Linked DNA regions of Homo sapiens: all the other regions are linked to region 4. Evidence: promoter capture Hi-C in 16 types of primary human blood cells and fetal thymus (Javierre and others, 2016). All regions are on one chromosome and are shown on one strand. The core of a region is centred on a gene start or on the middle of the fragment in contact, and the rest is flanking DNA. Distances in the headings are between cores, read along the strand shown.

Region 1 (3,197 bases), core at 297-2,796, 4.6 Mb after region 4:
CACTTTAGCTCCAAATTTCTCTCTCTGTTGCTTACTGTTGGTTCTTTGCTGGGGGCACAGGTGACCTTTCCTATGTCTAGGAACATATCAGGCTTTATGTTCTTCCCTTTCCTTTCAGTGTCTACATTGTACCCATTCTTCAAGGTCCAGAGGGAATGCCACTTCCTTCTTGAAGTTTCCTGGCAGCTCCAATTCACACTCATGACATCTAAATAATTATCCTCATGTGTTGTACTTGGGACAAAATAGTTGAATCCTCTTTTTCCTCTTGTTTCGTTAACAGGATACCTAAACGGACCATTACCTGCGACAACGGGACATGCGCGGATAGCTATCTGAAGTACAAATTTGTCATTTCCAAAATACTGGTTCTTTTTCTAAAGAAGTAGTAAAAAAGAAAGAAAAAAAAGAACCAGTATTTTGGAAATGACAAATTTGCTTAGTCGCCCAGGCTGGAGTGAGGTGGCATTATCAAAGCTCACTGCAGCCTCAATTTCTTGGGCTCGAGGGATCATCCCATCTCAACCGCTCCAGTAGCTGGGACCATAGGTGTGCGTCACCGCATCTGGGTAATTATTTTTTAAATTTTAATTTTTTTGCAGAGACCAGGTCTATGTTGCTCAGGCTGGTCTCGAACTCCGGGCCTCAAGAGAGTAAAATCATAAAGTGCTGGGATTACAGGAAACGCAGCGGACCCAAATTCTGTTCTTTACTCATACCTAGCAGCTCCTCTGGTTGCCTGAGGGACCATGTCTCAAACACTATCATGTCGTATTAATTTTTCTTTTTGTTTAAAAGCTGAAAGTGAGAGTACAGTAGGACGTCTCCGGGCTCCAACTACGTCCTATAAGCATGCATCCTTTATTCTGAATGCGTGTGAAATAAAGTTTGAAAAGAATAACCACAGACATACTTGTGACCACAAGCCACAAGAAACGTAGTCAAAAGTGCACTCTCAGTGCTGCTGCCGACCGGGCACGGCGCTGGGCCTGCATTTGCGCTTTCCTGGAGCCTCAGTGTCTCATCTGTACAACGTTGATAATCGTCGGCAGCACCTCTTTCCCAGGGTTGCTCTGAAGGGTTTTCTTTGGGGTGAACCGCCAGGCGGTCGGCCTCCCAGGAGCGGGGGGAGACGCCTTCCTTACGCGACGCACTTCCGTGCGCGAGGAGGGAAGATCGTGGCTGAGTGCGGGTGGCCTGGGCGGAAGGCTCAGCGGGGACAGGTTGGGCCGCAGCTTTGCTGTGCTGTGCCGTGCGACGCCCTCCGCAGGAGCGCGCAAAGTGTTAGCCACGGCGCCAAGCAAGCTGGACGTGCGTGCATGAGCGCGCTCGGACTGACAGGGAAGCGAAAAGGGGGCCAGGGCGCACCATAGAAAAGCCGCGGCAGAAACGTACGACACAGCCCGAGGCGGCGGGGGCGAGAGCTCCGGGGCAGGGACGGCGACGCGGCGTACCCGGTTTGGCGCCCCTGCGCGGCGGTCGGCCGTCCCGCAGCGCCCCAGGTGGCCGCCGGCGGGGTCGCCGCCGGGGGAGTGGATTTGCTCCGCCTCCGCCGGGCTCGGCTGCCCTCGGCAGCTTCCCCGCCTGGCTCTCCCTCGACCCTCCTCCCCTCCCCCTCCCGGTTCGCGATGGACTGGGCCTCCCCGCCGCGCCGCCGCCGCCGTCGCCCGCAGCACCGCGCGGGCCTCTGAGTTGCAGGGCCTGAGGAGCCGCGTGCTGGGGACTGGACGTCCGCTGGCTGCTGCCGCACGCGAGAACCTCTCGCTTCCCTGTCACCAGGTCCTCGCGGAGGAAGGGGAGGGACGAGGCGCGGCTTTTCCTGTGCCGCCTGCCCGGTTCGACCTGCGCGGCCTGCGGCTTCTTGGGAACTCTAGGGCCGCGGCCGGGCCTGGCTCTGCCGGCGGCCTGTTGGGAGCTGGATCGGAGCGGTTTGGAACGACAAGCCCGAGTAAGAGCCTGCGGGAAGGGGAGGCGGGAGCGCCTCGGACCGTCGGAAGGGCCCTGCGTGGGGGCGCGGATCCCGGACGCCCGGCGAGTGGCGGAAAGCGAGACCCCGGCGCCGAGTGAGGTCGGCCAGGCTGCTGCCGACTTCCCCGCTGGCCCCTTTGTTCCCCTCCCGGGGCCCTGCCGGCGGCGGGGCCCGGTTGCCCGCGCCAGAGCCTCAGGCCGGCTCCTTTTGCCCTTGAGAAGGGTTCGCTGCCAGGCCTTCGAGTTCCGGGCGCAGCTCCCGGGAGAGCCGGCGCCCTGCCTGGCCCGGCGGCCTCCTCTCGGGCACGAAGGCTTGCTGCTGCTTCTCCAGAACTTCCCTTCCTCGTAGACACAGGTAGTTAACTTAGCGGGGTTTGGTGCTGGGGAACCACAGCGCGGGGGCCAGCGCCTCTCAGCGCCCGGCTCGGCCGGGCCCCGGGTGTGGGGTCAACCCCGCTGGTCGCCGCCGTTGGGTGCCCACCGCGCCCCGCCGCCGGCTTCCCACACTTGCGGCTGCGTTACGTGGGACCCAAAGCTGTCCTCCAGTCAGGGCGCTTACGGGGCGCTTTTGTAATGACTTACCTGTTGGGGTTGCTTCTCGGTTTTGTTTTTGTTTTTTTAACCAACTGCCCTATCTTGTGAAGCTGGGGAAAGAGGGCCCTAGGTTGGCCTACATTCGTTCGGATCCGTAACCTGCTGGTCCATTGCATTTACTTTTAGCCTTTCCTTTTTTAATTTTTTTATTTTTTTAACTTTTAAGAATAGTTGCCAAGACTGCCAAAATTCCTAACCAACTCTTTATTCATAGATAAATCTTGTATATAATTGTCGTTTGTATTTGGATATCTTTAAAATAGAAGTAAATTGAGAAGTCAGCAGAATATGTGAAATTGGAGGTAATTTTGAAGGAGAAACAATTTGGAGGGGGATTGGATCAAGGTGTTTAGAGTTTCCTCAAAATACTGAATCTAACCCTTATCTGAAGATCAGTTTTGGGTAGAGAAGGAGGGGGATGAAGTTTGCTGGAAAAAACAGAACCTTTAGTTAGGTGTTCTTTGCCTTTTGGCATAGACTTTAGTGATAGCAGTAGTGGGACCTGAAGCTTGACTGACTGTCTTTGACACAGACAGCTCTGGTTTCTAGTTAAGCAGCAACCTAATCAGCTTATATACTCTTGTGCAAAACTGGTTTTCATTTGGTATGATATCTGTACGTTAAACCTGGCGGAT
Region 2 (2,983 bases), core at 252-2,751, 3.4 Mb before region 4:
TGCTTAAAAAAAAAACCTACCACAATTAAAATTTTGGAACATGATCTTAAATTCCTGTGAAAGGGCATGAAGAGTTTGTGTGTGTGTTTCGTTTTTTGAGACGAAGTCTTGCTCTGTCGCCCAGGCTGGAGTGCAGTGGCACAATTTCTGCTCGCTGCAACCTCTGCCTCCCAGGTTCAAGTGATTCTCCTGCCTCAGCCCCCCGAGTAGCTGGGATTACAGGCACCTGTCACCACGCCCGGCTAATTTTTGTATTTTTAGTGGAGACGGGTTTTCACCATGTTGGCCAGGCTGCTCTCAAAACTCATGACCTCGTGATCCCCCCCACCCCCCGTGCCTCGGCCTCCCAAAGTGCTGGATTTTACAGGCATGAGCCACCTTGCGGTATGTTAATTTGGGGGAAAACAACAGGGACAATTGGGGAAAAATTTTGTTTTGTGAATTACCAATGGAAGAACTAATCACAGGCTAAGCAACATGCTTACGGTTGAATTTGCCAAATTTAAGATGTACATACTATGATGTAGCATGTGTATTTATTTGCACATGCAGTGGGACAATTCCTACAGTTGTCTCACACTGCTGTAGATTATTAGCAACTCCATCCTGCAGTGACATCGCTTTTCTGAATTCTATAGCACTTTTCACCTAATCCTCTGATTAGTCTGTATTTTCCGGTTCAAGTGTATCTTGTTTTTCGTTTGCTCCACTTCCCTTGTCCCTTGCACCCCACTAACAGGAAAATTCCTGGTGGTCAAAATGGCTCTAATTCTTTTTGTATACCCGGGCTTAATTCAATAGGAATTGGGATAACTTTTCAATATTTAAAAAATTTGCACTGTGAAAACGTATATTTTAAACTCTTTCTACAACTTTTCATATTTGAAGAACATATGGCAGGAAGTGGATGCTTTTGATGAAGCCAAAAGAATTTTTTTAACTTCTATTGCTAATTAACAAGGAGGTGGCCGCGGGAGCTCTTTTTTTTTTTTTTTTTTTGAGACGGAGTTTCACTCTTGTTGCCCAGGCTGGAGTGCAGTGGCGCGATCTCAGCTCACCGCAACCTCCGCCTCCCGAGTTCAAGCGATTCTCCTGCCTCAGACTCCCGAGTAGCTGGGATTACAGGCATGCACCACCAGGCCCCGCTAATTTTGTACTTATAGTAGAGACGGGGTTTCTCAGGCTGGTTCGAACTTCCGACCTCATGTGATCCACCCGCCTCCGCCACCCAAAGTGCTGGGATTACAGGCGTGAGCCACCGCGCCCGGGCCAGGCGGGAGCTTTAGGTCTTATTTTATCTTGCTCTGCCCCCGACATCGTGGTGAGAGGGGAACCTTCCTCATATCTGGGCGCTGGCCTCTCCGGGCTTGGGAGAGAGGAACTCAGTGATCATAGAGCTGGCCGAATGCCGGGGTAGAGGGGACCGGAAGTTGTTTTTTTCGCCCCCGCCCAGCGGCCGGATCGCATCTCAGCTGGTTGGCTTTGGTTAGAGCTCCCGTCAGACTTTAGTTCGGCCCTAGGATTTGGTAGCCCCGAAGTGTGGGCTCTCTCCAGTACCAGACTCATTTCAGTACCAGCCTTTGGGAAGTCGTGTGAATACCTCGGTCTCTTAGCCACAGGGATAGAATGGCGGCCTGACGGAGCCGCGGCGCCGGCGAAGTCGCTGAGGCGCGAGCTGGAACCCCCAGACCAGCTCAAACGGGAGCCAAAACTCGAAGCTTGGAAGAATTAGCAGGAAATGGCGGATGAGGCGTTGTTTTTGCTTCTCCATAACGAGATGGTGTCTGGAGTGTACAAGTCCGCGGAGCAGGGGGAGGTGGTGAGTGCTGCCACACAACCTTGAGGTCCTTTTGCGGTGACACACCTTGTTTCCCCTCAGTGCTTTCCTTCAACCCCTGTCCCATCGCCACCCGACGCCTCCCGAGGTGTACACAAAATGGTCCACCTCCAGGTGTCCTAAACCCTAGAACCTGTCAGTTGTCTCCTTTGAACCGTCATCTTTCATCGTTTTCTCTTTCGTATCTTCTTCTATTTGATTCTCTTTTGTCTATTCCCGTACGTTTGTCTTGCACGCCACAGATTTTGGTACTTTTAGTGTTGTCCCTGCCATTATTTACGAGAGGGTTAACTGCAGAGCCTACTTAGTTTTGCTGGCACTTCCAGCACTTGAGCCATGCACTGGACAGACCTGTGCCAACCTGAGAAGCCTGTCCCTCCTTCCTCATTCCTAATGCTCAGTACAACTCCACACAACTTGAGACCTGAAGCCTAATGAAGGTTGAGTTTGCAAAGGAAAGTTTGCAGGCGTTAGGATAATTAGGGAACATAATTTAAATTAATTATTTCAGAAAGTATTTATTTAGTGCCCTTATGTCAGAGCGATTTCTAGGTGCCAGGGATATAGTAGTGAATGAAACAATGGCCCCATCCTTGTAGAGATTTTTTTTTAATCTAATTTAATCCGAAATGTGATAGTATGTAGCGGTTACTTCTAATATGTGGGAGTCCTTATTCAATCATTGTGGGCCTGTCACTGCTGACACTGCTAGATAAATTAAATAAAATAATACTCCTGCCTCACAGTATTTAGGGAATAGTGATTTAATGAATAGTTAACACTGAGTATTGGCTGGTAGAATCATGGAGTTGTAACGGATTTTAGAAATACTCCAAAGTCATGCTCAAGTCAGGAGCCCTTTCTTTAATGCTATTGATAAAAAATGAGTGGAGAGTGGGGATAGGAAATGTATCCTAGGCAAAGATAAAGTGGTAGAGGTATGAAAGAGTGGTGGATTTAAATACACTTAAGCATTTCTTTGGACTAGACTGAATAGAGAGTGAGAAGAATTGAGAGGTGAAGTTAGAAAGCTTTGTGTAATTAAAGAATTCGGATCTTTTCGAGGGAATATTTTTAAGGAAGGGAATGATGTGGACCATTTGCATTTTAGAAAAGTAATCCAGTGTTTGGGCTAGAGAGGGAAGA
Region 3 (3,382 bases), core at 150-2,649, 4.4 Mb after region 4:
CTCACTCAATAGGAGGGTTTAAAGTAATTAGTGATTTTTGAGAAGCTAACCATTACCATCCATACTCCATCTATTCTACTCACAGGAAGGGTTTCCCAATTTGTTAAAGAAACCCTCTCTGTAGAAAGATCTCTGCGAACCACATAACCTATTCTCTATAGACCTCCCTATTTCCTGCAGCCACATACAAATGGACACCAAAGTCTTTTCTTATTCTGGGACATAGCTAATGGTTTGTATGTCAAAGTTTCTTTCAGGCCTGTAAAATCTGAATCTGAGAGCCGGAGAGAAAAGAGACTCAGTAGTTATAATGACATAAAGGTGCAGACATGAAGCAATTCAACTTGTCTGTGCTTTGCAGACAAATGTCAACAACTGTTGGAATCCCTGCAATGCAACAATCAGAGATCATGTGAGATTTTGCTTTCTGTTTTTACTAAAAGTGTAAACCTGGCTGCAAGATAACCAGCAAACAAGCAGCTTCGATTTTGTGTACAAAGGACTGTTGATTATGCATGGACTATTTTCTTCAGTCACACTACTTTGTATGGATAGCAACACTGTCAGTGATGTCATCTTTTTAAACAACAGATCCGAATGTATAGGCACATTGTGTCAACTGAGCCCAAATCAATGACCTGGGTAATGCAATCAGGGTAACACTATTATTCCTCATCTAAACCATCCAAGCCCATAGACAAATAAATGCTAATCTGATGCATGTTTAAGGAATACGTTACATGGGAAAGAAAATCAAGCCCTTGTTTAGTTTTATTTACATTCTAATATGTACTTCCAGAAAATGCATCACAGAATTTACGTCATATGCATCAGAATAAGCTGTTTTATTTTTGTATTAGTAGCGGGCTAAGTTATTAACAATCATACTTTCTTGGATAAGAACATTTTTAACAAGGATATCTTCTAAAGAATGTGTATTCGTATAGCATACCAATACCTTTTCACAACTGTGGAATCAGAATAATTTATGGCATTCCCGATAGAGGAGGCAGCATTGTTTTTATTGATTGGAATAAGGAAAATTTTGAAGGATGTATATATAGCTTTTAGTTCCATCTCCGCTTGCTTTATGATTCGATTATTTGTTTACTTACTTTCATATGGGCATAACATGAATTTAAATCAAGCAGATTTAAAATTTTTCAACAGTTGGAACCTAAGCTTTCTGAGGTGAAAAATGTTTCTTAAAAGGTTTGTAGGAAAGAGATTTAACGAGTCTTTTCAATCGTTTAATAAAAGTATACACTGAGCGCCTTCTACAGAGTTGGGCAGGTGCTGCCGAGAAGCTTAGCGCTACGCCGGCCTCCAAGACCGCACATCCGGGACATTCGAGAGTCAGTCCGAGGCCCCGCCCTCCTAAGGGCGGGGCCACTGGGCAATCGGCGCAGGCCCTTCGTCGTGCCCCGCCTCGTCTGCCCCGCCAGCGCGTCGAGGGAGGGGCCAGCGACACATGGCCTAGTAACTGTCCGGCCGCGGCGCTGGCTTAAGCCATGGCTGAGGGTAGCCGGATTCCTCAGGCCCGGGCGCTCCTACAGCAGTGCCTGCACGCCCGGCTGCAAATTCGCCCAGCCGATGGGGACGTCGCGGCCCAGTGGGTGGAGGTAACGTCAGCCCGGCAGCTCTCGTTATCCTCCGGCGTGCGGGGCGGTTTTTTCCGCGTTGTCTCGGTGACTCGTCCGCTCTGTGTCTCCCTCTGAGACCGGCGGTCCGGCCGCGGGGATACCGGGTCAGCTTGAAGCTGGCCGCGGTGGCCTGCCTGGCTGCGCTTGTCTTTTCGGTCCAGCATCACCGTTCCCCAGCGCCAGTTGTAGCACCCGAGAGGAAGAGCGTGTCTCCCTTCTTGGGGGGACCACAGGTATTTGAAACTGAGTTCGGTGAACTTCAGGCCTTACTGTCTCAGACCCCTTGCAGCTCGTGGTCTATGCTGGTCGGGGGCAAGCTTGTAGGTCAGGTTTGCTGCAAGAGTTCATGATCTGCTTTGACTTACGCCTCAGATCGCGTCGAATTCCCCCCTATGTTGACTTGGTCTTAGCATAGAAATGAGATTTCCTAAGAAACAATTCTATTTCAAGAAGCCTTTTAAAAGTTTTGACCAATTTCCAACTGAGAAACAAAGACCTCTACTTTTATAACAATGTTGCCTTATCAAACACATTTCTCCAAAGAATTTAAAACATTTATGTCACTATGAGTTCCTTCTACTTTCATACATACTTTACTTTTTAAGACCGCCTGCCCCCACTGCATACAAAAACAAATAAAATTTTCTTTAAGGCCTCTGACGTATTTTTGGAGTACGTTGAAATGTAAGAAAAAAATTAGTTCATAATTAAGACTTTTGTAGATACTCAGAAACTTCAGTGTAGCAAAATCTCATTCGCTCGCCTTTTCTGCTGAATTCGGTCCCAGATCTAGCATTACTTAAAACAATTTTAGTTATTATTTTACATTTATTTTATTTTTTATATTTTATTTATTTATATTTTATTTTATTTTTTGAGATGAATTCTCGATCTGTCGCCCAGGCTGGAGTGCAGTGGCACGATCTCGGCTCACTGCAACCTCCGCCTCCCGGGTTCAAGCAATTTTCCTTCCTCAGCCTCCCGAGTAGCTGGGACAACAGGCGCAAGCTACCACGCTAACTTGTATTTTTAGCAGAGACGGGGTTTCGCCATTTTGGCCAGGCTTGTCTGGAACTCCTGACCTCAGGTGATCCACCTGCCTCAGCCTCCCAAACTGCTGGGATTACAAGCCTGAGCCACCGCACCCCGCCTACTTATTGTAAATAGTACCCGTGAACTATATGATGTGTGGGTGATTATTCTAAAATCAGAATCTGTTGCCCTGTGCTAATTTGGAAATATAAGCATAGAAATTCCTGTATTCTTATCTCTCTCCTTTCCCAGAAATTCACTTTTCTTATTTCTTATTTTTGTCATGATTTTTTGTGAGGTCTTGATTTCCTTATTTGAAATTTTATTATTTTATTTTGCCATCCTATCTAAAGAATTAACCTGCCAGGCGCGGTAATCCCAGCACTTTGGGAGGCCAAGGCCGGCGGATCACTTGAGGTCAGGAGTTTGAGACCAGCCTGGCCAACATGTTGAAATCCCGTCTCTACTAAAAATACAAAAATTAGCCGGGCTTGGTGGCGGGCACCTGTAATCCCAGCTACTCGGGAGGCTGAGGCAGGAGAATCTCTTGAATCCGGGAGGCAGAGGTTGTAGTGAGCCAAGATCACGCCACTGCACTCCAGCCTGAGCCACAGAGTGAAACCTCATCTCAAAAATAAATAATAAATAAAATAATTATCCTTTTTTTTTTTTTTTTTTTGAGACAGAGTCTCACTCTGTCACCCAGG
Region 4 (2,934 bases), core at 59-2,558:
CATGTATGGCTTGTAAGTTTGATGATACAAACAAACCCTACATGTAGAAACTGAATAAATTTTTTGTACTTTAAAAAATATAGGATTGTTGTTGAAACAAACTACCATTAAGCAAAGCACTATATTTTAACATAATTTTGGCAAATGTCTTACATCTCTCTTCTTTGCTGATTTTGTTATTTTTCTATGTTAATCACATATTTCATTGGACAAGTCTATTGCTATGGGTGAGAACATAGAAGGAAACAGTTCAAACAAGCAAACTCACTCTTTATCAAATTATTTTGTGGAGGAAATGTTCCTGGCCAGGCGCAGTGGCCTCACGCCTGTAATCCCAGCAGTTTGGTAGGCTGAGGCGGGCGGATCACTTGAGTCTAGGAGTTTTAGACCAGTTTGGGCAAAATGGCGAAACCCCGTCTCTACAAAAAACACAAAAATTAGCTGGATGTGGTGGCGCGCACCTGTGGTCCCAGCTACTCGGTAGGCTGAGGTGGGAGCATCACCTGAGCCTGGGAGTTCGAGGCTTCAGTGAGCTGAGATCACACCACTGCACTTCTGCCTGGGACACAGAGACCCTGTCTGGAAAGAAAAGGAAAAAGGAAAAAAAAAAAAAGGGTTCCAATAAAAATTTCAATTTATGTCATTCAGAATTTCACGGATTTTTTTCAGCTATTGCAGATTCTTCAGATGACTCCATCAATGTAATAAGAACCTTGAATTCTTCTTTGCAGAGGAAAAACTGACAATATATTCATCTTTATGTGGGGTGCAGATGGGGAAAAGATTTTTAAAAGCACAATAGAAAAGGAAAGCAAGATTACTTTTATTTAAAAAACCTAGATACCTCTGCTTAAGCCTTTCTGTTGTCAAGTTGTTTGCAGCAAAAAACAGGGATATTGCAAATAGAAAAAATATGAAAGAAATCACATACATAGTGCAGGAAATATTATTAGTAATAGATTTAGGACAGAATAAATTGCCCAACTGTAACTTCGTTTATCTTTCTGCTAGAGGATCTGGTGGCCACAACAACTTATGCACATTTTCAAAGATAAATCATGGACATATTTAATAAAGATTACTTCTCTTTGCTTATTACTATCATTTGGCTTACAATGGAGCACGCAGTAACTACCTTCCTTGCCTTTCTTGAGATTCTCCTTTGGCTGCTTACACAGGAAACCAAGGCGGGGAGTGCCACGGGTGATCTCATGCTGGCATGACGTCAAGAACTCTTGACGTCAGAAGGCGGTTGCCACGGACACCGTTCGCCACCGACGGCAGAGTCGTGAAACCCCATCACTACCACACTCGTCTCCGTTTCGGCCTCTGCAGGGTGTAAGCTGCTAAAGAAGCTTCAACCTTAAGGGGGCCTCAGGGAGAGAGTTGTGCTCCTGCCGCCGAGAGCTCCACCTTCGTGGCTCTGGGTCCGGGGCCCCGGCCTGTGGCGGCGAGCGGCGGCCGCTGGAGACGAGCGGCGGCGGCAGGCGGCCAGCCCGGGTCTGCCTCGCTCCGTGCAGGGCCGGGAGAGGGATCCGCCATATTGGAGCTGGGGCCGAAGGTGCCTTGGAGCCGCGGCGCGAGGCGGGTGGAGGTGGCGGCCCTGGCCTGGATCGGGAAGGAGTCGGCTCTGCCCTGGCCCGCAAGGCTGGGGAGCTAATGAGCCTCTCTGGCTAGTCTCCTCCCCGTCCACTCCCTCCACTTTCTGCCGCCGGGACCCGGCTGGGAGCCGGCTGTGGCAGTGGCAGTGGCAGTGGCAGCGACAGGATGTTCTCCAAGAAGCCGCACGGGGACGTGAAGAAGTCCACCCAGAAGGTGCTAGACACCAAGAAGGACGCACTGACTCGCCTCAAGCACCTGCGCATCGTCATCGGTGAGGAGCGAGGGGTGGCAGCGCCGAGGCCTGGGTTGCCCGGCCTTCCCTCTCCTGGGAGCCCCTGCGGACTCTCTCTCGGGACCTGGCGCGGTGCAGGAGAGGGCAAATCGTAGCCTCTGCGGAGACGCGGGAGGGTGAATAATTCGGAGAAGCGAAAACTTGGCAGTTGGCAGCACTGATTACTGTTAACACAGTAATCTAATTTTGAGTTAATAGTCTGAACTTATTTTTTAAAATTGGTATTACTCTAAAAACTTAGATCTTTAAGACTTTGTGGGGAGACCTGGCGTTGTGGATAATGGTGTTTATAGGATATGTTTGCCAGATGACTACTGCCAACCCCACCCAAGTAAAAAGAAAAATAAAATCCTCTCTCAGACAATATAAACCTTAATCTTTCAAGTTTCTTGGCAGATGAAGACAAGGAGGTAGCAGTTACACCTCTTTGGGAAGTGGGCGGTTCCCAAAAAGCTGTGGGAAGGAGCCCCGCCCTTTTGTTAATGCACCTTGTTCATCACTAGTCATTTAGAGGGAGAACTATTATAGGTAGTTTAACTCATCCTTTGCTTCTCGAGAATTGTATATAATTCTATTTTTAATTAAAAATATTTTTTTTATCGTCTGCCCTTAAGTTCTGTTTTGCTGGTAGACCAAACAGTGCTCTAAGTTTTGAATATAATGTTAATCGACTCTTTTGAATACTTAGTCATTTGGTAGGCTGATAAAGGCTGTAATAATACTTATGGAACATCTGGTCCAGTAGTTGGATTTTTTAGATGAAGACATTTGAGATGAAAAGGAAAATTATTTCGCCTGTGTTGATACTTAGAGTTAATGGTGGAACTGGCTGAAGAAGATGCATTCATCCAGATGCCTGAATCCTAGTTCAGAGTTTATCTCGAGCTGTCCTCCTGATGCGTATTTGTTTTGGAAAGTGATGTTTATTTAGTGAAAAAAGTAAGTCCCTTATTTGAGGTACATGTTTCTCTAGTCTATTGTTTACTCATACCACCAGGATACCACCAATATTACCCAACATTTCTATGATGCTTTACTGT
Region 5 (3,317 bases), core at 804-3,303, 3.6 Mb before region 4:
ATATGAGTCAATTTTATTTTAGCAGTATAGAATATATGTCAAAAGAATCTAACTCACTTAACATGCTAAATATACATACTCAATATACATTTAATTAATAGTAAATATATTGGCCTGATAAGATAAATTTTGTGCAACCATTGGAATTCACTGATTTATTATTGAAACTGGGCAAGATTCACAGCTAATTCTTTAGCTTACAGTTGTTAAAATAGGATTCCTACCACACTTCATTTAAGAAGAAAGTTTGAAATTCTAAAATAATGAATTTCATTTATGGCAGACTGACATATTTTCATTTTACTCAGGAACCATTCCTAATAATTAAAGACTAATTATTAATGATCTCCAAGATGGTAGCTTGTTGCTAGCAAAATGCTAAGAAAAAAATATCAATCTCAAATTACAGTGCATTTCTAGAATATTAAAAAAAAAAAAGTCAGAGAACTGGAAACCCTCATACATGGCTGGTGGGAATGAAAAATGATGCAGCCACTTTGGAAAAAGTTTCCGTTTCTCAAAAAGTTATACATAGAACTACCCTACGACCCATCACTTTCATTCCTAGGTATCTACCCAAGACAAATTAAAACATACGTCCACATAAAGACTTGCACATGAATGTTCACAGCATTATTCATAACTCGAAACGACCTAAATGTCTGTAAACTGGTAAATGGGTAGTGTTTCATCCTGCCGAACCCACGACTGGGGTCGCCCTCTAAGAGTTCATTAAAATTAATAAGGTATAATTACCTAAAACTCTTGTAAACAGGGGCTCGAATAAGTAACCTATCACAATTGATAAACCACACCATGTTGTTGGCAACCTGATATGTGCAAGGCATTAAACGGAGAGCTTTGCCCTCAAAGGGTTAAGAACATCTAGAATGGGGGTCTCCTCTTTCGTCTTGGGAGCCCCCTCCGTCTGTCTCTGTAGTGGGGAGCTTCTTCCTTCAGCCTTCTTCCTTCTTTCTTGCCTATTAAATTCTCCGCTCCTTAAAACCAAAAAAAAAAAAAAAAGTCCAAAAAGTCTTGGTGTTTACCACAAAAGAACGATGCTATTCCAACATCACAGCCTCCCTAAAGCAACTCTCAATTATTACATAAAGAGGCAGCCTCCCTAAAGCAACCCTCGATTATTACATAAAGTCACTTAATCTTTTCTGACTTCACCACTCTTTGCAACCAGAGTTTACTTTGCAGTAGGCTGTGGTGAAGTTAGGGACATGGTTTGGAAAATCTAAGTTAGGGATACCAGGCAAAAAAAGAAGAAGAAGAAAGAAAAAAAATCAAAGCTCTGTCATTACTGTGAACTTTTCAACGAGAGCCTTAAATCTCAGCACAGGGAAAAGAGACCCTTCCTCAAGCCCTGGAGAAGAGGCTGGTCACAACCTGCGGATCTCAGATCCCTTTGCCAATTTTTTTCTCTCCCTCTGAATCCAAAGGGTGACGCTGTCCTCACTGCTTCCCCACACACCAGCGAGTGCGCGGAAGTCCACCTGCGTGGTTGGACCGAGGGGGCAGGTCCATTCGCGGCCTCCGCCACGCCCCACACCGCCCCTCCCGGCACAGCCCGCCGGGGTTAGCCCGCCCGTCCGCCAGCTCCCTCTCAGCGGCGCAATCTCAGGAATTCTTAACCCTACTCTGGGCAGGTGGGATGGCTGAGAAAGACCCTGCATGCCGCCACTTTGGCTCAGGGTCCTCAGCCCAAACTGAGAAACGTTTTACAAAGAAGCGTGACGACCTTTCGCACTAAACCAGAGTACCGCCACCTCCATCGACCGAGCGCCAAAATTAACCGACTTACAGATGTGACTGGGCGCAGCGGCCACCGTAAGGCGTAAGGGGTGCCAAGTGCCGGTTCCAGTCCCGCCCAGCCCCGCCCCGCCCCGCCCCGCCCAGCCCCGCCCCGCCCCGCGGCCTGCGTGCGTCAGAGATCACGTGCCGCGCCTCCCGTCCCTACAGGCAATCGGGCGCTCCCCTCTTCCGGAAGTCGCGCCGGTGCGCGCCGGACTCCTCCCACCAGCGGCGACGTCAAACTCAGCTCCTACCACTTCTCTGTCTCTGCCGACCGGCGCAGGGAGGGCTGCCTTTTCCTTACAGTACGCCTTGAGGCTTCCGGGCCGCTGAAGTTTACGAGCGAGGGCAGTGCAGTTACTCAGTGTGCCGGCCTCGGACGCACGTGAGTAGAGTTTGAGAAGACAGAGGCTGGCTCCCGGCAGGCCACGCCCGCAGAGGCCTTTCCCCCTCTCCACAACTTGTGTTCTACTTGGTTCCGCCGAGACCCACGACGGTTCCGCCCCCTTCTTCCTAGTCATTGATGTTGTTGTTCTTGTCAGTGCCGCAGCCCCGACCGCCGGGAGCTCGAACCCGAGCCGGGGCCGCCCGGGTGGCGCGGTGGCGGCGGCTGCGGCTGCAGCAGCTGCGACGGCTGCGGGGGCTGCTCCGGGTACTGCGGGGGCGGCCGGGAGCCGGCAGCCGGCGGCGGGGCCGGATGGCTCTGTGCGGGCAGGCGGCGGGCGCTGCGTCGCTGCCCAGCGAGCTGATCGTGCACATCTTCTCTTTTCTGCCGGCGCCCGACCGGCTGCGGGCCTCGGCCTCCTGCTCGCACTGGCGTGAGTGCCTCTTCTATCCGGCCCTGTGGCCCCAGCTCCGCATCTGCCTCCGCGTCTCGCCCGCGGAGCAGCCTCGGCTGGAATTCCTCATGCGCAAGTGCGGCTGGTTCGTGCGAGAGCTGCGTGTTGAATTCGCCGCCGAGAACTATCTGAGCGGCGGTGGCCCAGGGGACGGAGGTGGCGCGGACACCGGGACTGGAGGGGAGGAAGTCGAGGCCCTGCAGCTCTCAGCTCGTTGGCTGGAAGTGCTGCGCACCTACTTGGAGCTGGTGCTTTGCGTGCTGGTCAGCATCCGGAACAACAGGTAGGCTTGCCCTGAGCCCCGCCCCGCCCGGTAACGGGGGGTCGCTCCGTCCCCGCACCCCGACACAGATTCTGTGCATAATACGTGCCCGGCCAACTTCAGTGTTGCCTTCCTCAGTGACGGAGAGTGTTGGTTCTAACTAGGCGGTTTCCTTGAGCGGAAAGGCATAACGGGACTCATCACGATACTTTATAAACAGTGGTGGACGGGGTGTTTAACAGACACCACTTCTGGCGCCTTCCAGGCACTCATTCATCCTCTTGGTGGCCGTGGGATGGAGCTGACAGGCGCTGTCACTTTTCATTTTATATATGGGAGCGTTAAGACTGGGAGGGTGAGGCCTGTGGGTGAGCCTTGGAAGAAACAAAACATACACATAACACGATTTTCTGACT
Region 6 (3,343 bases), core at 744-3,243, 3.7 Mb after region 4:
GCGGATAAACACCACCTAACATTCTAACTGAATACTGGTTCTGGATTTAAGTGGAATTGACAAACTCGCCCCCCGCCCCTACCTGTAGAAAGCAACATAAGCAAGTACTAGTAAATACAGCGAAGCATTTTGCTGTTTTACACCTGAACATTTAAAAAAAAATTCAGTTTCCTGCCTATCACAAAGGAAAAAATAAATGATCGATAAGAATTTAAACTTAAAACGTAAGCACAAACCCATCTATATGCCTATCTTGCTCTATCTCAAAATATTTGAATTCCCATTTATTAAGCGATGGCCAAATCCGAATTTCTATCACATGGTAGAAGTATAAGCGTCTCCCCTACAACTTTTTCGGGATTTTACTAAACGGCCTAATAACAGTTTGCCCTTACTTCCGTGCACCTTTCAACCTCAGCTACACCCCGAGCCTCCAGCTCTCTTGCATTTCTAATAACGCTGAAGAGGGAGGGTGAGAGGGAGTATTTCTGTGTGGATAAGTGCGCGCGCGCTCCCGCGCGGCTCCCCACCCCCACCCCGATACTTTTCTTTAGTGGAAAGAGAGGAAGAATCTGGAGGTTATTCTAGCGAAAACTCAGTATCAAAGCCTCAACCCAGTCGCAGTCAGCCCATAGGACTCTGGGCTCTGGATGCGCAGTGCAACTTCTCATATCTTACTCCAAGCTTCAAAGCAGATGGAAAATTGGTGAAGAGAACCCAGGGAGGAGTCGAGGAGATGAGGGAAAGTGAAAGGGCCGATCCCCCCTACAAGGCGTTTAAGTTTGCAACCGAGACTGTGTTTCCGCGAATCTGCACCCGCCCCGTGTACCCTTTCCAGGTGGAACTCGTTAACAGCAGCAACCCGGCCAACGGACACCGCCACCTCCCCTCTCGACGGACCACCCGAGACTCGAGCAAGTGAGGCGGCGGGCGAGAGCGGACGCCTGGCGGGGCCGGCGATCCCCGGCCAGCATCAGGCCTCCGCCGACCCTGGCCCCGTCACCTGTGGAGAAAGCACCCCCTCCCCCGGCCTCTCTGCCCTTCACGCCGAACGTATCCCTAACGCTGCAGCTGCTGCCCGCCCGGCCTGCGAAAACCGAGCGCAGCGCCAGGCTCCCCTCGGCGGCCGCGGGGCCCCAGCCCCTTCAACTGGTTACAACCGGCAGCGGCGACCGAGCGGGGCAGCTAGCCGCAGGAGGGTCCCCGTCCGGGAGGGGGCAGGCAGGCTTGGAGGAGCGGGGTCCGCAAGGTCCTACCTAACAACGTCGGTCTCCTCCGTCTCCTCCTCAACGGCAGCGGCCCCGGCGGTGGCGGCGGCAGCGACATTCCTGGGGACCGCTCCCGCCGCCGCCGCCTCCTCCTCCACTCTCCGCTCGCCTCTCTTCCTCGGCGCGCTCACCGAGCGGCGCGTCCCTTCAGCCACCTCCCCCCGCCCTCCCCGACACACACGCCCCGAAACCCTGAGCCCCACGGCTCCCGCAGCCAGCTCACCCACCCTCCCTCCCTCCCTCCCCGCCACCAGCGGCGGCCCGTCCCTCCCCCCTTCCCCAGCGCCCGCCGCCGCGCCGGGCTCAGTAATGGCGGCCACTCGGGCTCCCTCGCGCTGACGGATTTCTCTCCCTCTCTCCCGAACTTTACCTCAGCATCTCTCCCGGCGCGCGCAGCCACACACCCGACCGGGGGCGGAGCGGCGGCGCGGCGGCGCAGCCTGGACGGGACGCGCGCGCGCGCGCGAACCCGCGCTGCCCTCCCCACAATCCCCCGTCCCCGCCCCTTCACCTCGCGACGCCTCCCGCGCCGCGCACCCGGCACGGCCCCGCCCCTGCCCTCGTCTCCCGGGAGCCTGGGAAGGCGCGAGCTATCCAGTCGGAGGGAGGGGGACGAGCGCGCGGGGCCGCGTCCTCGCTCGCGTCCCCGCTCCCTCCTCCCCTCTGCTTCTCCCTCCCCTCCACTCCCCCATTGGCTTCTACCCCTCCCCCTTCTTCCTCCGCCTCTCCCACCATTGGTTCCCTCCCCTACTCCATTCCTTCTCACCTTTTCCCTTTTACCCATTGGCGTGAGTATTTTTCCTCAGCTTCCCTCTTTCTCCGTATTCTGCTCCTCCTCAGTCCCATCCTCCACGCTTTGGAAGCTACTGCCTTACTGCCCGGAGCGCCGTCGTCCCCGAACCTCCCCTGCTTCTCCCTTTCCTTCTGTTCCGGTTTCTGGTCGTAACTCAAGAGCAAACCACCGTACTGCAAAGGAACCAGATATTGTGCTCGCGGTTCCAAACCGGGCATGGGCACCGAATGCTTCTCGATAAATCCCCTTATGGTCTCTGAGCATTAAAGAAAGCAAGGGAGGAAAACATGCGCCCAAGCTCGTTCGCAGGAACATGTTCGCGTGTCTGCGCCTGTGTGCGCAGCCAGTTTTCTGGCTGAGGATCGCTCGCCAACTACAGACATCACCCGCCCAGGACCCGGTGCCACACTCACCCAGAAGACGAAACTCCACAGGAGCGAGAAGAGGAGTCCATTTCTCCGTCGGCTCGGCACGGCACGGGGATGCAGGCCCCTGATTCAGTACGTTCTGTGAAAGTGGAGCGAGAAGCCAAGACGTGGATCGAGAAGCCCCGTGGGGCGGGTCTCAGGGTGGCCCAAAAGACCCCTGTTCACGCCACTACCAGCCTAACTTTAGGAACTGTCGTCCACCTGGCTTTTATTATACTGCCTTAAACATATTCACTTTTTTGAGACTCTAGAAATTTCACAAGTTTTGGGGTAGAGCACACTGGGCTTTGGGTGTGTTTCTCATGAGGGCACTGACGCTGAATGGTGCAGTGAGAAAGGACGGTAGAAACCACTGCCTTTGCTTTTACCATTGAAGAAACTGAGGTCCTGTGACTTTCCCGAGGTCATCGGAATCTGCCTTGCACAGGAGACTTAAAATAGTTGCCAGCAGATAAAAGAATGAGCAAAACCACATCTACTCCAATTTGTTAAGTCTGAAAGAAAGTAATTGAGGGGGGATTCCTCTTTGGGGAAATATTTATTTCCTGCATTGAAAATAGTTTAATGTTAGTAAACATATAAAAAGTATTTTAAATTCAAGTTATTCTTTATTTCTTATGTTACATAAGGTACTGAAGTTAGCCAAGGTTGCTTTTGTGTTATAATGATGCAGCTGCTGCCAACCAGAAGTACATTTACGGTCTGTCAGTAAAGAAAACAAAAACTGCCTGTTGGTAAAAATCTATTAGAAAATATTTGTCAGTAAATTTGTCACAATATTCCAGCAGAAGTTCTGTTCGTTTTTCCGTCTTCCTGCCCTTCATATTTCTCAAAGGTAGACTTAATAAAGGTAG

What was found. Contacts are between HindIII fragments. The CHiCAGO score rates a contact against its expected background, and 5 or more counts as called.
Region 1: the fragment with the promoter of HECTD1 here is called in contact with the fragment with the promoter of RALGAPA1 in region 4 in 4 of 17 cell types (non-activated CD4 T cells, total B cells, naive CD4 T cells and 1 more); the score reaches 10.8 in non-activated CD4 T cells.
Region 2: the fragment with the promoter of TRAPPC6B here is called in contact with the fragment with the promoter of RALGAPA1 in region 4 in 9 of 17 cell types (total B cells, total CD4 T cells, naive B cells and 6 more); the score reaches 15.5 in total B cells.
Region 3: a contact is called between the fragment with the promoter of DTD2 here and the fragment with the promoter of RALGAPA1 in region 4, in 3 of 17 cell types (fetal thymus, total B cells and naive CD4 T cells). The highest score is 14.5, in fetal thymus.
Region 5: a contact is called between the fragment with the promoter of FBXO33 here and the fragment with the promoter of RALGAPA1 in region 4, in 3 of 17 cell types (total B cells, naive B cells and total CD4 T cells). The highest score is 14.7, in total B cells.
Region 6: a contact is called between the fragment with the promoter of ARHGAP5-AS1 here and the fragment with the promoter of RALGAPA1 in region 4, in 4 of 17 cell types (activated CD4 T cells, fetal thymus, naive CD8 T cells and 1 more). The highest score is 13.2, in activated CD4 T cells.

The regions. Positions count from the first base shown.
Region 1 is chr14:31,206,142-31,209,338 of GRCh38, reverse strand. HECTD1 (HECT domain E3 ubiquitin protein ligase 1) reads left to right here and starts at 1,546. Exons shown (of 43, transcript NM_015382.4): 1 at 1,546-2,323. RefSeq lists enhancers at 605-1,116, 970-1,139, 1,117-1,628, 2,141-2,654 and silencers at 1,320-1,659, 1,960-2,169, 2,290-2,499. The HindIII fragment of the contact is 4,913 bases long and covers 1-3,072 here.
Region 2 is chr14:39,168,851-39,171,833 of GRCh38, reverse strand. It overlaps TRAPPC6B (trafficking protein particle complex subunit 6B), which reads left to right and starts at 1,501. Exons shown (of 6, transcript NM_001079537.2): 1 at 1,501-1,819. The coding sequence starts at 1,739. RefSeq lists enhancers at 274-863, 1,645-1,694, 1,454-2,043. The HindIII fragment of the contact is 6,900 bases long and covers 1-1,720 here.
Region 3 is chr14:31,455,523-31,458,904 of GRCh38, reverse strand. DTD2 (D-aminoacyl-tRNA deacylase 2) reads left to right here and starts at 1,399. Exons shown (of 3, transcript NM_080664.3): 1 at 1,399-1,622. The coding sequence starts at 1,512. RefSeq lists enhancers at 1,235-1,414, 1,555-1,764, 1,209-1,794, 1,795-2,380. The HindIII fragment of the contact is 653 bases long and covers 1,310-1,962 here.
Region 4 is chr14:35,807,669-35,810,602 of GRCh38, reverse strand. RALGAPA1 (Ral GTPase activating protein catalytic subunit alpha 1) reads left to right here and starts at 1,308. Exons shown (of 42, transcript NM_001346249.2): 1 at 1,308-1,873. The coding sequence starts at 1,768. RefSeq lists enhancers at 1,162-1,261, 1,098-1,658 and a silencer at 1,342-1,581. The HindIII fragment of the contact is 1,366 bases long and covers 1-1,357 here.
Region 5 is chr14:39,431,169-39,434,485 of GRCh38, reverse strand. It overlaps FBXO33 (F-box protein 33), which reads left to right and starts at 2,053. Exons shown (of 4, transcript NM_203301.4): 1 at 2,053-2,922. The coding sequence starts at 2,324. LOC105370461 (a long non-coding RNA gene) reads right to left here and starts at 2,047. Exons shown (of 8, transcript XR_007064121.1): 1 at 1,967-2,047. RefSeq lists silencers at 1,455-1,624, 2,365-2,494, 2,935-3,064 and an enhancer at 2,015-2,264. The HindIII fragment of the contact is 7,836 bases long and covers 1-3,317 here.
Region 6 is chr14:32,075,349-32,078,691 of GRCh38, reverse strand. ARHGAP5-AS1 (ARHGAP5 antisense RNA 1 (head to head)) reads left to right here and starts at 1,993. Exons shown (of 1, transcript NR_027263.1): 1 at 1,993-3,273. It overlaps ARHGAP5 (Rho GTPase activating protein 5), which reads right to left and starts at 1,388. Exons shown (of 7, transcript NM_001030055.2): 1 at 1,257-1,388. RefSeq lists silencers at 1,035-1,329, 1,128-1,347, 1,708-1,967. The HindIII fragment of the contact is 3,747 bases long and covers 687-3,343 here.